3 separate regions of the Homo sapiens genome follow, and regions 1 and 3 are each linked to region 2. The links are contacts of gene promoters, found by promoter capture Hi-C in human tissues and cell types (Jung and others, 2019). All regions are on one chromosome and are shown on one strand. The core of a region is centred on a gene start or on the middle of the fragment in contact, and the rest is flanking DNA. Distances in the headings are between cores, read along the strand shown. Region 1 overlaps LOC102724227 (a long non-coding RNA gene). Region 2 holds the start of CAPZA3 (capping actin protein of muscle Z-line subunit alpha 3). Region 3 overlaps PIK3C2G (phosphatidylinositol-4-phosphate 3-kinase catalytic subunit type 2 gamma).

Region 1 (4,384 bases), core at 1,879-4,378, 72 kb after region 2:
TTCAGTTTTCATCCAGGATAGCCAAACACTATGACCTTTTCTGGTTTTTGATATTTTAACCAGCTCTATGAGCTATGAAGACTCAGTTCATAGAAAGATGGACTCACAGAAAAATGTCCAATAAATTTTTCTCTGATACTAAATGTAACATGTTCAGTAGTGAAAGGCGTAGCATATAATATCTGAGTGTCTGGAGAGACCTGAGAAATTATCTAATATCATTTAACAAATAAAAAACTGAAGCTCAAAGAAGACTAGTAACTTGATTAAAACTGACAGAGCTGGTAAAAAAAGAGCCGGAAGGATTCAAATTCTTCTGTTCATTAAAAGAAAATAATAAATAAATGACAGGCTATGATTCCACTGAAAAATATTTGTATTAAAAATAAGTATCCTTGGACACAGAGTAGTGGTATTGTGTGGGCAATGGAGTTGGAGACCTAGCGTTAGAAGTGGTTCTTCCAGGAACTTAGGCAAAGCAAAAATCTAAGGCCATGCCAGTTGTGAGGTGTTCGGATGCCATAGTTCTTTCCCAGTAACATCAAAGTAATATAATCTCCAAAGATAAGAACCAAAGAAGACATCTGACATAAGAATCTGATCCAATGGCTTTAAACATTAAATTGAATATTAAATAGAAGAGATTTTAGCCTGATGCTAAGATTTGAATGTATGGTGTATTTAAACCTATGGCTGAGTATATTTTTAAATTATAAAAAAATGATATTTTCTCTGCTGGGAAATTATTAGGAATTCTAATTTTATGCATACTGCAAGTCTTCAACTATTTATGACTGTTCAAAAGAAACCATGCTGAGCTTCTCTGTCAATGACTTCTAATCAGAGAAGCCTTCTATAAGCTTAGCATAAATAGGTGATGAGAGCAATGAAAGGGCATCACCGTTTGTCGCAACACTTGACATTTAATATTACTGTCACAGATGCAGGCCTCCTGGGAGAGGAAAGGAGAAGTTATTAAGACGAGGGACTTAAGAATACTTTATAAAATCCTACCCTCTTGATTTTATTTGATTTTTTTTTTAATATTGAACTCACCCTGTTTGGAGAACCCCTCCTCCTTTTTTCTTGCTTATGTCAATTTCATTCTTTCAACTTTTCCCATTGGCTTGTGCTTCCTTCTGTTAAATTGACATGCCATGAATCTTTTAGATATCAATTCTCAGTAGAAATCGTCCAATGTTATTGAAAACTGTGTGCTTGCTTATTTGAACTTTATTATTTTTTCCCTCTACATACCATTTACTTCAAACCATGTAATAGACTTTAAAACATGTGTTCACATTATCTTTGGGGGAAGTGCTCTTACCCCATGGGACAGTATAACAGCAAGCTTTGCTCAAAGATTCTTATAAAACATTAGGGGGTGATTATGTGAATTACCAAGGACTTTGTAAAAGCTACACCCCTGGTGCATTTAAGTGTTTATTTACTGAACTCTCTTATGAGGAAAGTGGCTTAAGTAGCCACTGCCAAATGGCGGCCAATCATAAGAGAAAAGACATCTAGGACAATACAGAGTGATCAGCAGGAAAATGGCATTGCATTGCAGTTAGTATGCAACGCATCATTTAGGCAAAGCAGAATATTTCTAGAGATACCGTAGTCCAGTTCACCTTAAATAGGAAAAGTACTAACTATAGGTGTAAAATGATCCTGCTACTTCTGGTTAATTCAGTACCACATGAAGTATAGTTTAATTGTTGCCAAGAATCAGAAAAAGAGCCTTTAAAAAACCAATTGGACACTATAGTATATCTTATACATTAAACTTATAGTTCCTTTCCATACTGTTAATGATCCAACCCATCTTAAGCCCTATTGAGGCAACTGAAATAGACATTACTCTGTTAAGTGAGCAATGATTATGACTGCTTTTAATAATGTATTATTCATATCTTACAGAAACAAAGACTTCTTATATGCAGTGGATTTTTTAATCTCAAGGATGACAATATTTATCATAAAAAGTATGTTAAATAACACATGTATGACATGAATATGTTATATTCTGAATTTGAGGAAAAACTATCCCTATAAACAGGAATTTGCCCTTTCATGTTAATAATCATTTAGCTGGGTGAGCAGCTTAGACTAGCATGGGTGATTCAGAGGGGCATTGAGGAGATCATGCTGAGCTTGGAATTGCAGTTTATGAGAGAAAGCATGGTTCAAGAATGGACGATCCAGGCAGAGACCAATATCACATAACATTTCATGAATTTACTAAATGAGAACATATAAACAGCTCACTCACAAAGTTGAATATTAGTTTTGAACCCAGACACAATGCATACTTACTACTTTTTTTTTTTTTTTTTTTGAGACAGAGTCTCGCTCTGTCACCCAGGATGGAGTGCAGTGGCGCCATCTCGGCTCACTGCAAGCTCTGCCTCTTGGGTTCACACCATTCTCCTGCCTAGCCTCCTGAGTAGCTGGGACTACAGGTGCCCGCCACCACGCCCGGCTAATTTTTTGTGGTTTTTTTTTAGTAGCGACGGGGTTTCACTGTGTTGGCCAGGATGGTCTCAATCTCCTGACCTCGTGATCCACCTGCCTCGGCCTCCCAAAGTGCAGAGATTACAGGCGTGAGCCACTGCGCCCGGCCATACTTACTACATTTTAGAGAGTAGAATTATTGGCCGTGTGTGGAGGCTCACGCCTGTAATCCCAGCACTTTGGGAAGCTGAGGCGGGCGGATCACCTGAGGCTGGGAGTTCGAGACCAGCCTGACCAACATGGAGAAACCCCATCTCTATTAAAAATACAAAATTAGCCGGGTGTGGTGGTGCATGCCTGTAATCCCAGCTACTTGGGTGGCTGAGGCAGGAGACTTGCTTGAACCTGGGAGGCAGAGGTTGCAGTGAGCTGAGATTGTGCCATCGCTCTGCAGCCTGGGAAACAAGAGTGAAACTCTGTCTCAAAAAAAAAAAAAAGAAATTAGAATTATTTTTGGCACAAGAAAGAGAGAAAGATCAGACACGCTTGGACTGGTTCAAATTTGTATTTCTGCTTTACTGACTGGCTCTGTGGAGACGCGGTGGCTGCTCTCGGTCTTTCAACTGGTCCACGTAGCCTTTACATGGATACAGACTACTGATTCCATAAATAGAGAAATTTCCAGATGGTCCCACCTCAGGGGGAGTCATTTGACTCATGACTGGCACACAACACTGAAAATGCTGGAAAGATGGCAAATATTAGTAACTGATAATACTAGAGGAGTGAGTGGGAACATATAGGACCCAGCATTTACATTTATTTCAGGAATCAAAAACACCAGACTCTTTATGTCCCTGGTAGACTGTTTCCCTCCCCTAGAAAGCTAGTATAGCAGGGTATGAAGTAGCAAGAATTTGCATATGGAATTCATGATTAACATTAAAATGAGAAGAAATGTTCCATTTTGTGTTTCTGTTGGAGGGACTGCTGCAGTGGGCCAGCTATCAAGCAGCATTAGAATTGATTGGATCAGTCCCAGTGAATGTGATTTTTATCCATCAATTATTCAAAAATTCTGAGTTTCATCATCAAACTGAGAGGCCGCATAAATCTCAGACTTATGAAGCTCATCAGGTAGCAGGTGATGCTAGAGGCCTTTTGGGAACAGGACTAAATAATCAAGTTCAGACCTGAGTCACTAAGATGGGCTTGAGAAAAGATGATGAACTGAGAAAATTAGAGCAGTGAGAGGACCATATGGGGACATTTGGATAGATAAGACAGTGTTTTTGCAGCTGCCGTGAGTGCATAACATTTAGGCAACAGAGATGCATTAGTTATCCATTGTCATAGTAATGCTGCATAACAATTTACCCCAAAACTCATGGCTCAAAACAATAGGCATTTATTGAGCTTACACGTCTGTGGGTTATCAATTTAGACTGAGGTTGGCATGACAGTTCCAGCCTTAGCTGGGCGCACTCACGTGTCTGGCCATCAGCTGCGAATCAGCTGATCTTGGATAGCCTCCGTGGGAGCTGGAGCAATTCAGAACTGGGTCTCTTCTCCAGCAAGTCAGGCTTTTTCATAACAAAGAGAAGCAAGAGATATAGCAAAAACACAAATGTACTTTTTAAAGCCTCTATTGCGTCATATCTGCTAACATCTCGTTGTTCAAAGCAAGTCCCAGGGACAAACCAGAATTAAGAGAGGTAAAAATAGACTCGTTCTTGTTAGCAAGAGAAAATATAAAGTCAAAGGCAGAGGGTACTCTGTTAAATATCTACTGCTCCATTAAAAATTTACCCCAAAACTTAGTAACATAACACAACTGCCATTTAATTTGCTTACTATTCAGAGTTACTCTTCTGGAGGCTCAACCAACAACGTAGCTGAGATTAGATAATGTAAGATGTCCTGACAC
Region 2 (4,141 bases), core at 1,342-3,841:
CTGCACACAGCCTCTCAGTCTCCTTTTTGTTATTGGTCTGTTTAACCTTTCTAGTTCTTCTTGGTTCAGTCTTGATGGGTTATATGGTTCTTGAAATTTCCCTTTTTTTTCTAGATTGTCCAATTTTATGGTGTATGATTGCTCTATGTGTTTTTCATTTTTGTGAGATCTGTTGTAATGTCTCCACTTTCATTTCTGATTTTATTTGACTCCTCTCTCTTTTTTCTTACTCTAAGTATTTGTCAATTTTATTTAACTTTTCAAAAAAACAAGTCTTAGTTTCCTCAATTTCTTCTAATTTTTTTCTTTTCTATTTTAGTTATTTCTGTGCTAATCTGTATTATTTCCTCCCTTCTGCTAACTTTGGGCTTATTCTCCACTCTTTTTATAAATCACTAACATCTAATACAGTTACCATTATCAGTCTGATATAATTAGACATCCAATCCTAGGTTTAATGTTAGCATTTCTGTATGCTCAGGAAATTATTCTAAACTGATATCCTGGTATTATTTCAGATTTTCTCAACAACTAATTTTACCTTCTACTGAAATGCTCTCCATCTTGATTGTAAATATAGTTAGTATAATTAATTGCTTTTCTTCTTAAGAGACTAACCTTTATATGACAATTACTGACATTGGATTAAGTTCCACCTAGGATAGGATAGGCAGGGGGTGGATGTCATCTTACCTTAAAAATCTGTTTCACATGAATATAACTGCACCGAATATCTAATTTTTCAAGTAACCTCTGAGTTTTTTCTAGGTTAATTTTTCCACCTCTGAAGTCATCCTGAATCTTTGACAAAAACCATGTAGAAGCACAAAAAAGTTAAGGAAATTCTCACAGAAAGTCATTGAATATTTAAAATTCCTAAAGAAACATTTGATTTACTGTATTATTTTTATTTTTAAAGAATATGTTTAAAGTAAATTATAGTATAATTGTATGATAAATATTTTTTAAAAAACAAAATTAAGTAGTTACTATGCTATGGTAAAGGTATGAAAGGGCATAGCACAGTAAAAATACAAAAAAAAGAATTAAAGTTAAAATTTGAGAATTGAAGTCATTACTTAGAACATACATTAAAACATTATAACAATCTATTGCCTGAAGGCATGAAGTTGGAAGGCAGCTAGACTTCAAGATCGCCTCTCACCTGACCTCTCTGTTTTAGTTCTCTCTTCCAGAAAGGTGAGCAAATTAACCCTGAATCTTAAGGAAAGTGGAAGCATTAGATGAATTCCTAATATGCCACCGAACACAGTTTCTGCTACTTAGTGTTCAATAAATAGTAACCATGACTGATAAAGTTATTATTACTACATTAGTCCAATGCCCAGCTACACACACACTCAAGACAGTACCATCAAAAAGCATCAGAAATACCATGGTGAGTGTATATTTGGTATGAAAAACGAAAAAAATTTTTAAAAGCTTACTTATCATAGATAAACTACAAAAACTAGGACACTTCCATTTGAAAAACTAAGATCGAAATGAGATAATGACAATTATCACTAAAATTATAAAAGGTATAGGTAAAAATTGTGCAAAACTACTAAGTTTCAGATTGTTAGAACGAATTAATGAGATCTCCTTAAATTTAATAGTTATGACTTAATCCAGCAAAGCTCATGTTCTTGTAAGAAAAAGATACCAGAATGCAGGGAAAGTTAGAAAAGCTCAGAACAAACAGGGAAAAGCAGTTCAACTTAAATGAAGAGGACTTAAATTCAGAACTCCTCGAAAAGAATAACAGCATCAAGTAAAGAGGATAAGTAGGAGAAAGAAGAAGAGGAGCAGAAAGAAGCTCTCAATGGATATCTCATTTCCATAGTTTCATGACCTGTAGAGCCGTTTCTCCTCACTTAGAAGTCTTTCCCCAGTAGGTGCTGTCATGGGTTCCAAATACAATTAACTCTGCCCCTTTGCAGAAAATAATTTCTTGATACTCATCAGCTGTTACCACTTTTCTAGGGAGAAAGCAGAGAACACACAGTGGTTTTTTTTGCCTTCGTTCTTTGAAGCTAGCTCACACTTAACCATAGAAACAGTATGCAAGATGTGGTACCTGCACTACCCTGCCCTTGAAACTGTTTGGCTTCTTACGTTCTGACCACCTCCAAACCCACAATATTTGAAAACACAGCTTTCCCTGATGTCTGGCATTTTTCCATGAACTGCCATTGTATCTCCTTTTATTTTTTACTACTTTGTTTAAACCCCTCAAACCTTTCATCATAATATGCTTCCAGTGGGTTTGGGCAGCTACTCTGAGAGCCTGAGTATAAATCAACACCATTGTGATTCCTGAAGTTGCAAAGTGCTGTCACTCTTGAAACTTTGGGCTGCTTCTCTAGATCGTTGACAACATATAATGCACACAGAGACACACCACTTTCGAAGAAGACTGTTCAGGAGGCTAAGTTCTTAAAATCTTCAAAAGAGGTATAGCTGGTTGGCTGGGCACCACACTGTCAGGTGACTGTCATTTTTTCCTTTTGGTCTGAATTCCCATTGTGATATCATCAGAGGTTCCACACTTCACAAGGAAAGCTTCTTATGACCTCATCAGGAGGCTCAGACCTTGCCAGACTGCCTGCTTTCATGGATAGACATAAAAACCTTCAGCTTGAATGTTAACACCTTGATGGGAAAGGTGGCTCATGGAATGTTTTCTTATCCTTTGAACACTCCTCATTTCAGAAGCTTTGCTTCTGTTGCAACCAAACATGACACTTAGCGTGCTGAGCAGGAAGGACAAGGAAAGAGTAATTCGCAGACTGTTATTACAGGCCCCTCCAGGGGAATTTGTAAATGCCTTTGATGATCTCTGTCTGCTTATCCGTGATGAAAAACTTATGCACCACCAAGGTGAGTGTGCAGGCCACCAACACTGCCAAAAATATTCTGTACCACTCTGCATCGATGGAAATCCAGTACTCTTGTCTCACCACAATGTAATGGGCGACTACCGATTTTTTGACCATCAAAGCAAACTTTCTTTCAAATATGACCTGCTTCAAAATCAGCTGAAAGACATCCAAAGTCATGGTATCATTCAGAATGAGGCAGAATACCTGAGAGTTGTTCTTCTGTGCGCCTTAAAACTGTATGTGAATGACCACTATCCAAAAGGAAATTGCAACATGCTGAGAAAAACTGTCAAAAGTAAGGAGTACTTGATAGCTTGCATTGAAGATCACAACTATGAAACAGGAGAGTGCTGGAACGGACTTTGGAAATCTAAATGGATTTTCCAAGTTAACCCATTTCTAACCCAAGTAACGGGAAGAATATTTGTGCAAGCTCACTTCTTCAGGTGTGTCAACCTTCATATTGAAATATCCAAGGACCTGAAAGAAAGCTTGGAAATAGTTAACCAAGCTCAACTGGCTCTAAGTTTTGCAAGGCTTGTGGAAGAGCAAGAGAACAAATTTCAAGCTGCAGTCTTGGAAGAATTACAGGAGTTATCCAATGAAGCCCTGAGAAAAATTCTACGAAGGGATCTTCCAGTGACCCGCACTCTTATTGACTGGCACAGGATACTCTCTGACTTGAATCTGGTGATGTATCCTAAATTAGGATATGTCATTTATTCAAGAAGTGTGTTGTGCAACTGGATAATATAAAGAATTGCTCCTGGTAACTATCTTGATTTGACTTGTTTGTGTTTCTTGGGAATGGTTATTTTCCTAAAATTGAGCAATCTGTAGAGATGTCTCTCACTTAGCCAATGCAAATTTAAATGGGAAAAGTGTAGCAAGTAATTTTACTTGGGGAATATTTATGAACAAGGCAAGAAAGTGTAAAGTAACTGTGTTTCATGGTGGTGACCATCATAAAGACCAAGACATTTGTTAGAAACTAAAATAGTTTTATAGAATCTGGGATTCCAGAAATAGTATAGAGGTGGCCAGGGTTAAGGCTGTGTGTGGGTGTGTACGTGTGTGTGTGTGTGTGTGTGTGTGTGTGTGAGAGAGAGAGAGAGAGAGAGAGAGAGACTTTTGACTGTTTCGAACTGAAAAGGTATACAAATGAATATCACTCCACAAATGATATTTTACATAACTCAATTCAGTCCTAGACCATCCACGAGATGGGGAATTTCAATAAAAGACATTAGGTTTGG
Region 3 (4,076 bases), core at 112-2,611, 110 kb before region 2:
TGGAGATTTCTGTGGTTCCTATATTTGGATGTTAGCTTTTTTGGTCATATTAGGGAACTTATCATCCATTATTTCTTTAAATATGCTTTGTGACCCTTGTATTCCTCCTCTCTGTATTTAATTCCTTTTACTCATGGCTTGGGTCTCTTGATGGTGTACCAACATTCCCATAAATTTTCCTTCTTCCATTTTTTTTTTCTTTTTGCTCCTCTGCTTGGATAATTTCAAATGTTCTGTCTTCACACTCACTGATTCTTCAGTGTGATTTCACTGGCTGTTGAAAATTTCTATTGCATTTTTTCAGTTCAGTCATTATATTCTTCTTCTCTATGATTTATTTTTGGGGTTTTAAAATCATTTCTATTTCTTTCTCAAACTTCTCATTTTGTTCAAGTACTGTTTTCCAAATTTTACTTTTTGCCCATATATTCTTGGAGTTCATTGAATTATTTTACGGAGTTATTCTGAATTATTTTTCTGTCATTTCTTAGATATCCCTTTCTTTGGGCGTCATTGCTGGAGCATTTTTGGTTTCTTTTTGAGATGCCATGATTCCTTGAGTTTTTGTAAACCTGTGTCCTTGCATTGGTGTTTGTGCATTTGTGGAGGCAGCCACCTTTTCTGGCCTTTACAAGTGTTCTTTGACAGAGATAGACCTGTGGATGGGTGCAGAATTCTTGTTGTAAGGAGATATAAGTAGGTGACCTCCTATTCTGCCCCATCTTGCTGACATCACTCCTCAGCCATTATTCATTCTACCATTTAACTGAGGCACAAAAACAAATCATATCGCAAGTGCTTTTATTATACACTATTATTTTATAAACAGACCCTTTTCATGATGGCTAACCTGAATTTAAAAACTGCAATGTGACAGGCACATAGATGAGAAAATGCTTTTATATTATGTTGTTTTGTTTCTGGTATAGACCTCAGGTTTTGATAGTTCCATCATATTTTAATCATCAGTTGATTTCCACTAAAGCTTATATTATCCTATGATTGGAGACATTTAAGCTAAAGAAAAGATGAAAAATTCTCATAAATTATTCATTGAAAAGATAATAACCTATTAAATACAATTAAGCCTTAGATTAATCTACAGAAGTTTCCAATGCATCTGATATTTTTAAACCACGTCTGTATCTTCATCACATTCCTGGTAAAACTTGATCTAGAAGTGCTCTTTCTTTCTTGGTCTTTCTTTGTAGTGAATCAATATAGGATCGTGATTAGGAACATAGGTTATATAGAAAAACCTCCTCAATAAACTGAAGCTGATAATCCTGGCCTGAGGATTATTTTAATAGAGTTCTTTAAATATAGTAAATAGTCATTATGTAATAGCTATTATTATTGTTATTATTACTATGAGTGCAAAATAAATATTTTCCCCATATACACATATGAAAATACTGAAGAGTTGCTGGCATACCCCATAATATTAGATGTTTCACTTACTTTATAAACAGTTTAAAATGTGCTTTGTTTTTGTACTAACATGCTACTGCTTTTTTTCTGTTTTGATATATTACCCATGTTTTTAAGATAATTTTAATTTGTTGGTGATAAGAACAATAGTAGCATTGAAAGCCATTTGAAATGCTATATGCAATCTGGGGCAAGAAACAAAGGCAGAAGATTGGTATATTTAATTATTCATGTACTTAAAACAATACCATTTAGAGGTCAACATTGTGAACAAAGAATTACTAATATGCATCATAGATTTTAAGTTTTGCAACCTGAAATAATAACTAAGCTAAGAATCCCCTGTATTCCTCTCTTCAGTTGAGAAAGAAGTATCCTCACTAGTGAATTCTAAGAAGATCCTAAGGTCTTCATTTCCAATCTTTCCAAGTAGTGGGACACCTTTTTAAACTTAGAGAAAATTATCTATCAAGTGTCCCTGAAATCTTTTTAATATCTTATAATTTATCTGGGCACAGTGGCATGGTAGTTCCAGCTACTTGGGAGGCTGAGGCAGGAGGATTTTTTGAGCCAGAGAGTTGGAAGCCAGCTGAGGCAATGTAGTGAGACCCCATCTCTGAAAAAATAATCTGATAATTTAAGAAATATAAAATAATTTTTAAAACCACTATAAATGTAGCAGTGCTTTTAAAAATATTAAAATTGTGGTAACAAGAGCATTTACATATATTTGACAAAATAATAGCAAACTTGAGTGAAATGTATTAATTCCCTCTGTGGAGAATGTTTGGTGTTAACATGGATCCAGCCCCCTGGCCTAACCATGGGTCACCATACGATGCCTCTCCAATAAATTTTGAATAACTTAATATCACCAGAGCAAAGGAATGTGCTGATTTTCTTTTGTTTCTTCCTTGTACTGCACAACAGAGAGGGAGAACTTGCACAGATATGAGAGAGGGCACAGGAATACAGCACAAAAATGTAACTTTAGCTCACAGTCTCTGCCTACAAGGTCCCTAAGAAATGGTCAGGTCATCATCAGCTCCTAGGAGATTTTAAGAACTTCTTGTGCTCATTGCCTAGATTTTCAAGGAGTTAAGGTGGAGAAACCCGGAGAGGTGATGAGGCATATCACAGAGGAGTAAACAAGGCCCCAAGGAAGGAACACAATTAGAGATGAAGTCTCTAAAAGAAAGTGAGGAGGATGGTGACTAAGGATTAATTCTGGGACTAAGTTTGAATAATGCTGTTACAAATAAAGTCTGGCTCCAGTTGGGAGTAGAGGGGATAAAGAAGGGTAGTTGGCGTGTAATTGCCTAATATTGACTCAGAGATAGGATAAGGCCAAAAGTTTAGAAGTGGAGCATTGAGACAAGCAGACTTTGACATGATTACTCCTGATTAGCCACAAAATCCAAATGATGTGCAGGAGAAAGTCACTTCTATCAGAGACATGCCTTCAGATGGCTAGCTGTTTAGGGTAAACACCTAGGATAAACCCGAGATATTTTCACTTTACCCTATGATAGACATTTTATTCCTTGGTATTACAATAAGAAATATTGCAATAGATAACAGGAACTATTTCAATTAAATATCTTTTTTATATTACATTACAAATGATGATTCAACAAATAACTCTGAAGTACTTTCAAAGAGCTAAATATTATTAATACACACCTCATTGACTCAGTCATTTAATAACTATTTAGTATCCACCCTCTACCAAGCACTGTGTTAAGGAAAGGATTTGCTATAAAAGAAAGGAACATTATGAAGGGAAGGCATGACTATGAAAGTAAAGAATAAGATGAAGGGGGCCAGGTGCGGTGGCTCATACCTATAATCCCAGGCAGATTCCTTGAGGTCAGGAATTTGACACCAGCCTGGCCAACATGGTGAAACCCTGTCTCTACTAAAAATATAATAAATTAGCCAGACATAGTGACTCATGCCTATAGTTTCAGCTACTTGGGAGGCTGAGGCAGGAGAATCACTCAAACCTGGGAGAGGGAGGTTGCAGTGAGCCGAGATCATGCCACTGCACCCCAGCCCGGGTAACAGAGCGGGATTTTTTCTCAAAAACAAAATAAACAAAAACAAAAACAACAAAAGAATAAGATGAAAGGAAGCCTGATTCCAAGCAAAAACTTTTAAATTTTAATTGAAGATTTAGAAATATATTGACAGCTTAGAAAGAAGGGTCTAGGATGGGGTTAGGGTAGTAGGGTAGTGAATAACCAATGGAGCAAAGCCCCAAGGGAATGTGGAGTCGGGGAAGAAGTGGAACAAAACATAGACCTTCCCTTTAAATAATTTTGTACCTCATGAGGAAGATGACATACATATCAAACTATTTTTAAAACACTGAAAAATTATGTTTTAACAGCAAATCTAGACTATATAAAATTCAGTTGGTATGAGCAAAAAGAATTAAAGTTAGATGACTTCATATTACCTTCTGAGCACAGTAATATTATTACCTGGAATTCTAAAAGAAAAGAGTACTGTTACTTTATTTCAACCTACCATGAGTAAGGAAGTCCTCTAGATGACATAAGGAAACTTCTCATTGCTTATATTGAGGATCAGACTGAGAATTCTGTATCTCTAACCCTAATCATTCTTCAGGGGAGTGTTAA

The links. The method cuts DNA at HindIII sites, captures the fragments that hold promoters and counts their contacts. A contact is called where the count stands out against the background at its distance.
Region 1: a fragment that was not itself captured here is called in contact with the fragment with the promoter of CAPZA3 in region 2 in 2 of the 25 tissues and cell types used here (lymphoblastoid cells and spleen).
Region 3: a fragment that was not itself captured here is called in contact with the fragment with the promoter of CAPZA3 in region 2 in 3 of the 25 tissues and cell types used here (dorsolateral prefrontal cortex, mesenchymal stem cells and spleen).

Annotation. Positions count from the first base shown.
Region 1 is chr12:18,807,016-18,811,399 of GRCh38, forward strand. The region is part of intron 4 of LOC102724227 (a long non-coding RNA gene); the gene reads left to right. Among named protein-coding and RNA genes, the nearest start is that of CAPZA3, 71 kb to the left of the region's middle. The HindIII fragment of the contact is 4,047 bases long and covers 1,106-4,384 here.
Region 2 is chr12:18,735,528-18,739,668 of GRCh38, forward strand. It overlaps CAPZA3 (capping actin protein of muscle Z-line subunit alpha 3), which reads left to right and starts at 2,592. Exons shown (of 1, transcript NM_033328.3): 1 at 2,592-3,661. The coding sequence starts at 2,742. The coding sequence ends at 3,641. PLCZ1 (phospholipase C zeta 1) reads right to left here and starts at 2,485. Exons shown (of 15, transcript NM_033123.4): 1 at 2,405-2,485; 2 at 1,834-1,982; 3 at 694-817. The coding sequence starts at 1,844. The HindIII fragment of the contact is 1,043 bases long and covers 2,005-3,047 here.
Region 3 is chr12:18,626,878-18,630,953 of GRCh38, forward strand. The region is part of intron 31 of PIK3C2G (phosphatidylinositol-4-phosphate 3-kinase catalytic subunit type 2 gamma); the gene reads left to right. Among named protein-coding and RNA genes, the nearest start is that of PLCZ1, 110 kb to the right of the region's middle. The HindIII fragment of the contact is 9,314 bases long and covers 1-4,076 here.